Regions from separate parts of the Homo sapiens genome. Here all the other regions are linked to region 1. The links are contacts of gene promoters, found by promoter capture Hi-C in blood cells and fetal thymus (Javierre and others, 2016). All regions are on one chromosome and are shown on one strand. The core of a region is centred on a gene start or on the middle of the fragment in contact, and the rest is flanking DNA. Distances in the headings are between cores, read along the strand shown.

Region 1 (3,112 bases), core at 250-2,749:
AAAAATTATGTATGTATATCCAGACATATTCTGTGTACATAACCGTGCACCTTGAATTTCTCTTAATAAATGAAACATCTTGGATAGCTTTCTAAAGTACACATAAAAAGCTAGGCCAGGCACGATGGCTCATGCTTGTAATCCCAGCACTTTGGGAGGCCAAGGCAAGGAGGATTGCTTGAGCCTAGGAGTTCAAGACCTGCCTAGGCAACACTGTGAGACCCCACTCCCTACCCTAATCCCCCCACCACCCCGTCTCTACAAAAAAATTTAAAAATTATCTGGGCTTGTGATGTGCCTGTAATCCAAGCTACTCAGGAGGTTAAGGTGGGAACCCCACTTGGGCTGAGGCCAGGAGTTGAGCCTGCAGTGAGCTGTGTTCAGCCTACTGCACTCTAGCCTAGGTGACAAAGCAAGAACTCATGTTTATTTAAAAAAAAAAAAAAAAAAAAAAGAGAGAGAGAGAAGAAAGGGAAAATAAGCATTATTTTTGGGAAAAAATCACTGTATTTAGAATAGCTTTCCCTCTTAGTTAATAAAAGTAACAAACCAGGCCAGGAGCGGTGGCTCACGCCTTTAATCCCAGCACTTTTGGAGACCGAGGCAAGTGGATCACCTGAGGTCAGGACTTTGAGACCAGCCTTGCCAACATGGCGAAGCCCCGTCTCTACTAAAAATACAAAAATTACCTGGGCGTGGTGGCGGGCACCTTGTAATCCCAGCTACTGGGGAGGCTGAGGCAGGAGAATCACTTGAATGCAGGAGGTGGAGGCTGCAATGAGCAGAGATAAGCACCACTGCACTCCAGCCTGGGGTGACAGAGCGAGACTCCGTTTCCAAAAAAAAGAAGAAAAAAAAAGTATCAACCCATTACTCAATGAGTTTTTCAGTCCTCGGTATTTATTTTCCCTAATTCAACCTCTGAGGAAGCCACAGCTAATGGAAACGAGTTACAGAGAGAGAGAAACAGGAGAAAAGCCTAAACTCAGATTTTCTAAGGCGCACAACAGGCTTGTCACGTTTCTGGACTGGACAGCGAATTTCAACTCTTGCTGTTGAAAGTTTATTTTAAACTGTTGGTGCAGTTTCTTTAAAAGACGGCAATTCTGTTTGGGTAGTGAAAAATACATGTATCTCTACCTAGTTTCGTCTACAGGTTCCAAACTTTTTAAGGATGGGGTGGAGGATGACGTTCGCTAGCTTTTGGCAGATAATAGTATTCTGGTATTCCAGGACCACCACTCTCTGCCCACTCCTGGGAGCCCCTCCCTTCGGCCCTCTCCTCCGACTCTCTGCTGGGCCCTTTAAATCCCCTCTCCTGTTTAGCAGTGGTCACGCCGCCCGCCTTGCGTCCCCCGCGCTGCTCCGCACGTGGAATGGCCCATGACGTCACGAGGCCACGGCTCAATCAGATGCGGCGTTTGGGAAATTTTAAATTTAAAGGCGGGGCGGCCTGTGAGCCCTGAAGTGCCGGCCGCGGAGGGTCCTGGCCATTTTCCTGGGACCAGTTCAGCCTGATAGGATGGCGGAGGAAGGAGCCGTGGCCGTCTGCGTGCGAGTGCGGCCGCTGAACAGCAGGTAGGGGGGCCACACCACGGCCCGGTGCCCGCTGGGCCTGCGGCGCCGCCCTGAGCCGGAGGGGCGAGGCCTACGATGTTTCCAGGAGCCGCTGCTTCCCGGCTCTGCTGTCTAGTGACTCGGCTGCTGGCCATCGTTTCAGGGTCTGTAAAGTGACAGGGGAGGATCGGAGATCTAGAAGATACTTTCCAGCTGCGAGATTCACTTAAATTTAACTCAGTCTCGCTGACATACAGACCTTCCCTTCTGTGCTGCTCTGCCTTGCGGCATCTGCTCCTCCCTGCCCCATTCCCCGCCTAGAGAAGTCGTATGGGACCGTGCCTTCCTGGCCCTCATCACAGTTAGTCATTTTACACCTAACTGCTGTCTCCAGACCCTCTGAAGACAAGGGCTAGTCTGTCTTGTCACATTACATTCAATCGTCACTCAAGATCATTCTACAAATATTTATCAATTTTTTTTTAGTGACTTTGTACAACACAGACACTCCCGTCATTGCCCAGTGGCTCTTCCATTCTAATGGGACGAGACAGAAAGTAAAGTTGAAAATGTAGGATGTTAAGTGGTGATATGTAGGTAATAAGTGCTAGGGAGAAAAAGCAGGAAGAGGAATAAATGAAATCGGTTTGCTTCACTAGCTTCTGGCCCTCGACCCGAAATGCTAACACTTTGTGTGTGTGAGAAATTTTTATTGAACACGGGGTTTAATAAATGCAAATACCAAGATCAGGAATTTCCTATTTTTGAGGAGCTCATTATCTAATGCCTTAAACGGCTACATAAAGAAACCATTAGGATACCTTTTGACAAGTGTTATGATGGGCAGGTAGAGAATGTTTGCTAGAGGAGTTATTAGCCCATCAGAGACGAAAGCTTCCCGTGGGGTGAACTGGTGTCAGAAAAGTCTTGACGCTTTTCATGAGTGAAATAATCCCTATGTTACTTAATGGAAAGGGAAGTCAGAGTATTCCAGGCACAGAGAGGTTACATCTGTCATTTGGGGAAGACCTTCAGGTAGAGCTTAGGATGTATCTAGGAATTCAGAGGAAAATGGAAGAGAGAAATGACATGATCTAGGACTCGTGCCCTGCTGAGGATTTCATAAGTTTCCAAAAGGTTTTAAGAATTTTAAGCAAGACAGACATAATCAGAGTTGCATTTTGAATCCATCCCTTTGTTTACCAGTACTGGGGGAGAGGGTGAGAATGAAAGCCTTCACAAGAAAACACTTTTGAGGCGGCAGAAGGTCACTGAAGCTCCATTTAAGAGTTGAATCCTCAAAGATGGACTTTCTGTCATTCTCTTATGTTACTATCTTTCAAAATATTCTTTAGCAGGTGAAATCTTTTCAATTATTCCTCCTATGACATGACTTTTATGACTGGTTAAAATGCGGTGTTTTTATTCTTTTAGAGAAGAATCACTTGGAGAAACTGCCCAAGTTTACTGGAAAACTGACAATAATGTCATTTATCAAGTTGATGGAAGTAAATCCTTCAATTTTGGTAAGCTTATAATAGCATCAAAAGTTACC
Region 2 (3,112 bases), core at 206-2,705, 760 kb after region 1:
AGGCTGCTTCTTCAGTTCAGCATATCGAAGTGCCATGTTTTGGTTTCTGAACCCCAACAGAGGAAGCAATTCCATCCTTCTTCCTATTCCTGTGGCATGTTCCTCCTCATAGGAGGAGGACTGGTTTGTGTTACTAGTGACATCAAGCAATACACTGAGGTTTGCTAAGCAGTGGTGAGGTCATGGCTTCAGATTGTGGGTGGCACAGTCCCATGTCTCTCCTGTCTTTTGTTAATTCGTGGACCTGTGTTGTCACTTGTCCTTTGTCTCCTGGTACTAACTAGACCAGACCAAAGATGGTCTCTGGCAAGCTCAGTTTAGTTTCTAAGCCCAATAATAGGTTACTAGATCAATTGGAACCTGCCCTGTGGGCCCAGAGAAAATTATTTCATAAGAAGAATTCGTTTCAGGCGAGGTCTTCATTTCAGGAGAGACCTCAGCCCAAAGTTGTGTGCCCCAACAGGAGTTAACAAAGCTCTTAGTTTGGAGATTATTTGATTTTGCCTGACCCGTATTGCTTCATCTGTACTTTGCTCTGTAAACAGAACAAAGGCACTCATCCTTTCTCAGGTGTTAGAATACTACAAAGGGAAGAAGGCAGTGGTGTGCTAGCAAATTGGCTGTCTGGGTGGAAAAAGACTGGATTTGTAACAGTTGCTGATTTTTCTAATGTAGGTACTTTCACCGTGGTCTATTTCCAACTCCCAATGGTTTGACAACTGCTTATGGATGAAGTTCCTCAGTTCTGACCATCAGCTCACTGAATGTGCTCCAGTAAAGTTGCAAAGCGAGTCATTAAGCTTCGTCCACCACAGTGAGAACAACTTTTCCTCAGTCCATTTCCCATCAACCCCTGGGGAAATTTCTGAGTTGCCCACCTTGTCTGTTAGGCTTCTTTCCCTAGTTTTATCAGGTATGACCAGGGGACCATGACTACATTGTAGACGCATGGTTGTTGGGAGTCTGCAATAATAGATCGGGGCAAATTTAGGGGTTAATGTGTGCTGGAATAACATCCCAGTCATAGGTTGGGTCTCTCCAAAGCAGAGCCTGAGACAAAGACTTATGTACCGGAAGTTTACTTAGAAATATGATTCTGGAAAGCAGAAGTGCAGAACCAAGAGGAAAGGAAAGACAAAATAAAGATGCATTATTAACTTCTACAAATCTGACCCTTCTGTCAATGTGAGTTACTAAAAGAGTAATCTCCTCAAATAATACATAGTAAGAAATGAGCTGGGAGTTGCCAGTCTTCACTGGAGCTTGAGAACAAATCCAATGCAGATGAAGGTAGACCTAAGATAGGTGCACAAACCAATCCCGGTGACGTCACTTGAATCTCTGGATTGAGATACGCTGTATGTACCATTCCCCCTTCTCCAATTTTGTCATGTGAACCAGTTCATTTCTTTGTTGTTTAAGCCAGTTTGAATCATGTTTTCTGTCATTTGCAACCAAAGAGTTCCAACTGCTATACTTCCACAATAAAAAGCTCACATTTTATTCTGTTTGTCAGTATCTTCTCCAATAGATTGCCACCTCCTTGAGTTAAGGGCCTATGCATCTTATTTAACTTGTATCCCCAGCATCTAACAGAGCACCTGGCATGTAGTAGATGCTCAATGCATGTTGGATTGAAGGAATATGTTACATTAATTTGACATCTGTAATACTGATCATTTCTAGTCTCATCAATGCTTTCTTAAAGAATGTAAGTGGGTTAAACTTTTCTTGTGCAGGGAAGAAAAGAAGATACAAATTTGCAAGAAAATGTGATAAAATGCATTTACTCAGGGGAAAAAAAAGAGACTGGTTATGTGAAAGAGTTAACATTGCAAACATAATGTATCTCCTTAGACCATTTTTTCCTTGTTGACTGTAATACAACTAAAATGTTAATAAAGGTATAGTTATAATTCACTCATTTACTGTACCTAATATATAATGAAATTTTTTCTCTGATTTTTTTTATTCCTAAGGGAAGAATCTCTATATAAAATGAAGATCTAGCAAGGAGAAAATGTCATGATGTTGATAATCTTATTTAGCCTAAAAGAGTTACCATGAATTATGAGCTTATTGATTAGAAACTCACAAAATAAAAGCTTATTTATAACCTACTTCATACTTTTATATTAAGACTACACTACTTCTTCCCCTTAATTGAAATCCTTTCAGAGTAAGAACTGGAAAGTTCAGAAAGTCGATAATTTAATCTAACTATCCATCATTCTATCTGCATTTTTTGCACATAGTTTGCTGAATGGAGCACTTAAAGCAAACTTAGCATAACATCTTTAAACTATACATAATCTTCCAAATTGAGTTGTGAAGCCATTATCTGGGATTCCTACCATATAACTTTACTATTGGTAAGAAACTCATGGAAGTTGCAAGTGCTATTCAAATATATTTCTCTAGAACCCAACATTTAGAAAAACAGTACGCAGATTTAAAAAGAATAATATTATCATTAATAATACAAATGTTAAAATCTTAATATTTGGGGGTCTACAGTAAGTTTTAAGCAAGCTACAAACTCTATTTCCCTTCAGAACCCCAAATCCTGTTATTCTCACTAAGCCAAAAACATTAGCAGCTAATAGATTTCAACCCCTAAGTAACCCCCTGCCTTAGACTAATGGCAAGATTTCCAAAAAAATTTTTTTGTAGTCAAAATTCCAGATTCTGAATCAATAGAAAAGAAAAAAAATTTCATCCTCCTTGCTTTTTAGTAGGATCCAGAAATCAGAAACAAACTAAGTGTGATAGAGCAGTTCATGCTTCTTTCTTACCAGATAAAGGACTGACATGTCAACATTGGCTTCCTCCAGGCTTGACAATGCCTGGGTTTCTCTGGGTGTATGTGTGGCTGTATCTGTGTGTGTGTACAGACTATTCTGAAGGCTGAGCAGATGATTTGCAGATGTATTCCAGACATGCACAAGGTTGGAATGCATCAGTCATGACTCTGCATTTCTATAATGTTTGTTTTTATTTGTAAATGTTCACTCTATATTTTCCTCTTCCATGAACCTCTCTGAAATAAAGTTTTTCTTGATTAATTTCCTTTAAAATCATTTGTGTTAATTAGGGAAATTATTAAAATCTG
Region 3 (3,112 bases), core at 273-2,772, 580 kb before region 1:
ATACAAACAATAATGTATTTACACTATAGTATAAACATAATTTTTATATGTACTAGGAAAACAAACGTTCATGTGAATTACTTTATCACAATATTTACCTTATCGTGGTGGTCTGGAACTGAACCTACAATGTTTCTGAGGTATGCCTCTATATATTTTTTGTACTGAAACTGAAGTCTCTGATATATTTAGTCTACACAATAAACATACAGAACAGATGACTCAGGTACCTTTGAGATGCTTTTATATATTGATGATTTCTACACTATTAACATTCATGTAGCAAAATTTATCAGGCAGAATTGTTTTATAAATTGGAAGATACGTATTCTCCAGCTCTGAAGCAGTTTTTGCTCAATATTTGTTAAATCACCTAAGTAGGAAATCTAAATGAAATACTAAAATAAGACTAATCCTGTTTCTATTTTGTCTGAGATTCCAAGGTGATAATGGATATCAGATATCAAAGCAAGGAGCTAGACTAAAAAGCATATTTTCAAAGGATGTATCCAAAAACCAGCATCATAGGAGTTATTTACTCTTTCAGGAACTTCTATTGAAAGGGTATAAGGAGATACGAAGAGTGAAGGAGTTTCTGTGGCAGAAGCAATGCTATGTATTCACTGCATAATGTCTTTCCCCAGGAATATGAATAAGGCATAACCTCCCAAATTATGTCAGGGGGTGTAAGACTGAGTATTGGCTAACAAAATTAATTTAATGGAGGTGGAGGGTATTTAAGCTACTTGCAGACACTGGCCTTACAAACAAACAGTGTGATCCTGTCTTCTCTTCTACCATAATTTTGAAGACTGCATGATTCTGCTATGATGGAAAAGGCCTGGATTTGGGGTTATCAGAGTAGAGCCAAAAAGAACTATCTGCTTTGCATCAGATGTGGTAGAAAAAAATTGGATACATTGTATTAAGCCACAGAGAATATGACACATTTATCACTGAGCCTATCACTGTCTGAATGAAAAAATTCCTTTGGAGCATTGCTGCCATATATGAATGCCAAGCCTTTTGTCAAAGGGCCTGGGTGGATGATATTACTTGATCTACTACAAGTTAGATGAGGAAGCCTCAAAAGAACCAACCAGCACTTGATTTGAGGAGGTGATTAGTCTGGTATACTAAATAATCTAAACATGCAAGACCGTGGCTGCGATGGCAAGGGAGAGTTTGCCTCTGGCTGGTATTGACCTTCACTCACAACATTTCTTGGGTCAACAAATGAGGGTGTCATGTCCGTGGCAGCTGGGTGTAGGGCAACACCCAAAAAGTAACTGCACTCCAATCTGATGACAAAGGCTGAGTAACTTGTTTCCCGTAGACCCATTGTGAAGCACTTGGTCAAGAAGTAGCTAAAAGCTACTTTAATTTTTGCATAAGGAGAGTGTTTATGGGGCTGAGGTATTCTATTAGAATATGCTGTAAAGCAGACAATGGGAAAATCAGGGAAAGTTGCTGATAGAAGATATGCATTTTCTGTATCACTGGGAATCACAGTGGAAGAGTTCCACCTAAGGGAGCCTCCACAGAGCCAACACAAGCCCCCTAAAGTGAAAGGGTCAGCAGTTGTCCCTCTTCACCCAGAGGGCCCTAAACACCTAGTGTAACTGCCTCTACTATGCAAATTTTGTCTCCTTTCATGACTCTATCTCCTTGGGCCCTATTAGCAAGCTAATAAGGGAAGCTGAATGGAAAGAGATGGAGGGATGACAGGACTCTTTTCTGCTGCAAATAACCTACATCTTTGAGCCTTTAATGAAAACATTGTAGATAAATCTATTGGCATTTCTTTTCTGGGCCTCACCTTTTTGTTTTTTAATTTATTTAAGTGTAATACCTAGACAGAATATACAGTAAATCTGTAAATACCTAGACAGAATATACAGGCGATGGCTCACGCCTGTAATCCCAGCACTTTGGGAAGCCGAGGCGGGTGGATCACGAGGTCAGGAGTTCAAGACCGGCCTGGCCAAGATGGTGAAACTCCATCTCTACTAATACAAAAATTAGCTGGGCATGGCGGCATGTGCCTGTAATCCCAGCTATGCACGAGGCTGAGGCAAGGAATTGCTTGAACCTGGGAGGCGGAGGTTGCAGTGAGCCGAGATCGCGCCACTGCACTCCAGCCTGGGTGACAGAGCGAGACTTTGTCTCAAAAACAAAAAAAAACAAAAAAAAACCCAAAAAACAAACTGTATGTGATTTTCTGGAAAAGGCAAAACCATTGCTATAATTAAAAATTAATGGTTTCCAGGCATCAGAGGGGAGAGATAGATAAGTATTTGGAACACAGATTTTTAGGGCATTGAACATACTCTATATGATACCATAATTGTGGATACATGTCATTATACATTTGTTCAAACCCATAGAATGCATACACCCAGAATGACCCTTAATGTAAACTATGGACTTTAGGTGATAATAATGTTTCAATGTAGGTTTAATCAAATTGTAACAAATGTACGACTCTGGTAAGGATGTTGATAATGATGGAGTCTATGCATGTGTGAGGGCAGAGGGTATGTGAAAAATTTCTGTGCCTCCCTCTCAATTTCCTGGTGAAACTAAAACTGACCTAAATAAATAAATACTTTTTAAAAAATACTGTAAATCAAAGTAATTCCCTACAGTAAAAACTGAGATACGCTGAGACACATTGGTGTCTATGACTCACCTGACAGACTCTAAGCATAGCCTCCTATGCCTTGTAATTTTCTGTGCCTAGAATTTGATGACATTTTATATCCCTTGATCCAGGAGTAGGCACCCGTTTATGTGAAACTTTAAGTGACTGCCAGAATAACAAAGGCCCAACTTCAAGTATATTAAATAAATGTAAACCCAAGTTAGAATATGTTTTCCAAAGTTAAGAATAGAGAACGATTGACCCTAAAGTACTTACAATTTTGATAGTTATTTACAGGCAAACTATACATTGCAAAGAAATTGTACTTATTTTTAAAAGTTAGAAATAACAAATAGCAATTGTTATTTTGTTTTTCCTGTTTAATTTACATTAGTATATAGTCCAGCAATAATGCTGAAGCTATGAAGATTTGGATAAGCATTCCATTGCATTGATTTTGACAAGTTG
Region 4 (3,112 bases), core at 456-2,955, 580 kb after region 1:
CTTAGCTATGGTCTACTTTAAGCCTCAATTTCCTTCTTTATAAGTTGGGTTGTTTTTCAAGATTAATGGCTCAATGTGTTGCGCAAAATTGTTCTGCATGGTTCCAAGCACCTTGTGCAGGCAAGGTTCTCGGGGAGACTGACTCTGAGTTGGAAATTTATGTTAAATGTTTTTCTGGAGTGCCTTCAAGCTCAACAGCTATGGAAGGGTGAGAGAGTAAGCAGGATGGGCAGAGGGAGAAGTTGAGTGCAATGCAGCCTCAGCCTCTCTAATGGGAACCCTGAAGCTTCAACAGCCCTTCAGTGTTGTCCCTGGTTGGACAGGCTTATTCATATGTCCACATTGATCAATGTTGCATGGGTGCCATTGTGGAAATGGATGTGGCCTAGGAAGACACAGCTCCCGGCAGCATTCCATGAGAAAGCTGACAGCTAGAGTGCACCACCAGCAGAATAGTCCTTTGTCAAAGGGGAATCCTGGTTGTGCATCACAATGTCGACAATAGTACCTCGCTCAAAAACTGATTTTTTTTCCTCTTCCATATTCCCAACTTTTTTTTTTATTATACTTTAAGTTTTAGGGTACATGTGCACATTGTGCAGGTTAGTTACATACGTATACATGTGCTATGCTGGTGCGCTGCACCCACCAACTCGTCATCTAGCATTAGGTATATCTCCCGATGCTATCCCTCCCCCCTCCCCCCCCACCCCACAACAGTCCCCAGAGTGTGATATTCCCCTTCCTGTGTCCATGTGAGCTCATTGTTCAATTCCCACCTATGAGTGAGAATATGCGGTGTTTGGTTTTTTGTTCTTGCGATAGTTTACTGAGAATGATTTCCAATTTCATCCATGTCCCTACAAAGGACATGAACTCATCATTTTTTATGGCTGCATAGCATTCCATGGTGTATATGTGCCACATTTTCTTAATCCAGTCTATCATTGTTGGACATTTGGGTTGGTTCCAAGTCTTTGCTATTGTGAATAATGCCGCAATAAACATACGTGTGCATGTGTCTTTATAGCAGCATGATTTATAGTCCTTTGGGTATATACCCAGTAATGGGATGGCTGGGTCAAATGGTATTTCCAGTTCTAGATCCCTGAGGAATCGCCACACTGACTTCCACAATGGTTGAACTAGTTTACAGTCCCACCAACAGTGTAAAAGTGTTCCTGTTTCTCCACATCCTCTCCAGCACCTGTTGTTCAGCAAAGCTTCATGCTGGAAGGCTCCTAGTCCAGGGCCCTCTGGTATATGGAAATCTTAATACTTTATCACAGAGGTGTGGAGAAGACATTGAAGAGGTGTAGCATTGCATGAGATGGAGGAAAGTGAGGTGGCACAATCTAAATAAGATGAGCTGGGTAAGGATTAGGCAAATCCAAAGCTTTCATCTTAGGTTAAAACACTTTCCTTTTGATAATTATTTGTTCATTTCTAGATTAAAAAATTGACTCTAATAGGCAATGTGAATGTGATAACCAGGCTATACGGAATGATCCCATGATTATAAGGAAGCATCTTAGAAAAGTATTTGCACAGATCAAACAAGGTGAGGTCATCAATTTGCTTTTCCTTTTATTATAAAAGTAAAATAAAAAATAGCATTTATAAATCCAACATTTTTTCCTTTAAAGTATTTGATCTAAAAAACATATTTACAATAGCAAAATGCAGAAAAGGGGGAAAATACCATTTTCAGCAATGATTGTAACCATGTTTAAATATTGACAAGTATTTTTTTTTTTTTTTTTTTTGCAAATCAGAGAAATAACCACATTAGAAAAAGCAATATGCCTTTTTTTTTAAAATGGCACATCAAGTGACTCTCATTTTAAAATATCTCTTTTCTTAACCCTTAATTTGAATGCAAAATGATGCTGTGGTCAGAAGGAATGCCAGGTGGCGACCGTGATACCTTTAATGACAATAGGAACGTAGCAGAGGGACAACAGCAATGACAACAGAAAGCAGCTGTGATCCAGCAGCAGCTGGCAAAGCTTAGTAAGCAACCTCATCCCCAGATGCATCCGCTCAGCCAGTGTTGTGATTGCTAGATACTATCTGTAAGTGAACCAAACTAAAATTCATTTATGAACCAAGAAAGGAAGCCAAGTTGAAAAGGTCTCGAGTTAAATCGAGAATGATTCAGGCGGGCCGGCTCTCTGAGCACCTTTGGATGCACTTCAGCTTCTGTCTTGTGGACAACGCAGTGGAATTTTAGGGCTTTGGTTTACACGGTGTGGGAAATTGTCAGCAGGCTAAATTTTGCCTTCTAGAGGTCCTTCCTGCCCATAATCATGGGGCATTTTGTTGAGAGTTAGCAGTGAGGCACCACTGGTCAGAGACTCGGTAAAGCTGAGTTTGCGGAAGGATGTCTCCACGCCGCTGTCGCAGACACTGTCACTGTCTCGGAGCTCGTCTGAGGGGAGAAAGCACAAATTCACTGGGGGAATGGCCGGGCTCTAAAAAGCTCATGGACTATTCTGTGGACAACTCTTGCCCACTGGCTTCTGCCAGCCACACATCCCACCTATGCCACCCTCACTGTCATGACTGCTCACCGTGGTGGGAAGGGCAGAAGATACTTGGGACATACTGTGAGGATGTTATTAGCCAAATGTCAGAATTAGCCAAATGCTTTCACATCTTCCTGCAATCTAGTCTTGTGTTTATGAGAATCCTTTCTGAATTCTCTTGACTCACAGTGGACCTTTTTTTCCCTTAGAAATCAAGTGTAGTTTTCCAACCACTGTATTATCTATTTCATAGCTGGGGAAACTGCTGAACCTCAGCAAAATAAATTGGTGACAGAAGCAAGAACTAAAAATGAGATCTCTCTCTGGGCCTCATATGCTATTACAGCATACATTGCCTTGAAAACATTTTTGGTAGCAATAAAAGTAAAATGATTTTGGTGAAAATGAGTCTATACTGGAAAATCAGGTTGAATTCCCTTTGTTTATAAGTGTCCTTAGGGATATGACCAAGACAAATTATTTCCTATACAGTGAGGAAGGAAACAGAAGTCTAACATACACTAATCAAAATGCTATCTTCTTATGTACCAAATTCCAATATTAGAATATTAAGACTTTAATGC

What was found. The method cuts DNA at HindIII sites, captures the fragments that hold promoters and counts their contacts. A CHiCAGO score of 5 or more calls a contact.
Region 2: a contact is called between a fragment that was not itself captured here and the fragment with the promoter of CENPE in region 1, in 1 of 17 cell types (fetal thymus). The highest score is 8.8, in fetal thymus.
Region 3: a contact is called between a fragment that was not itself captured here and the fragment with the promoter of CENPE in region 1, in 1 of 17 cell types (endothelial precursors). The highest score is 7.3, in endothelial precursors.
Region 4: a fragment that was not itself captured here is called in contact with the fragment with the promoter of CENPE in region 1 in 1 of 17 cell types (fetal thymus); the score reaches 7.1 in fetal thymus.

The regions. Positions count from the first base shown.
Region 1 is chr4:103,196,730-103,199,841 of GRCh38, reverse strand. CENPE (centromere protein E) reads left to right here and starts at 1,499. Exons shown (of 49, transcript NM_001813.3): 1 at 1,499-1,578; 2 at 2,992-3,083. The coding sequence starts at 1,523. RefSeq lists an enhancer at 1,083-1,637. The HindIII fragment of the contact is 3,749 bases long and covers 1-2,453 here.
Region 2 is chr4:102,439,829-102,442,940 of GRCh38, reverse strand. All of the region lies in intron 2 of NFKB1-AS1 (NFKB1 antisense RNA 1), which reads left to right. Among named protein-coding and RNA genes, the nearest start is that of NFKB1, 60 kb to the left of the region's middle. The HindIII fragment of the contact is 1,305 bases long and covers 803-2,107 here.
Region 3 is chr4:103,776,971-103,780,082 of GRCh38, reverse strand. No RefSeq gene overlaps it. Among named protein-coding and RNA genes, the nearest start is that of TACR3, 59 kb to the right of the region's middle. The HindIII fragment of the contact is 6,341 bases long and covers 1-3,112 here.
Region 4 is chr4:102,615,753-102,618,864 of GRCh38, reverse strand. NFKB1 (nuclear factor kappa B subunit 1) reads right to left here. Exons shown (of 24, transcript NM_003998.4): 24 at 1,563-2,431. The coding sequence ends at 2,271. The region is part of intron 1 of LOC105377347 (a long non-coding RNA gene); the gene reads left to right. Among named protein-coding and RNA genes, the nearest start is that of NFKB1-AS1, 110 kb to the right of the region's middle. The HindIII fragment of the contact is 613 bases long and covers 1,399-2,011 here.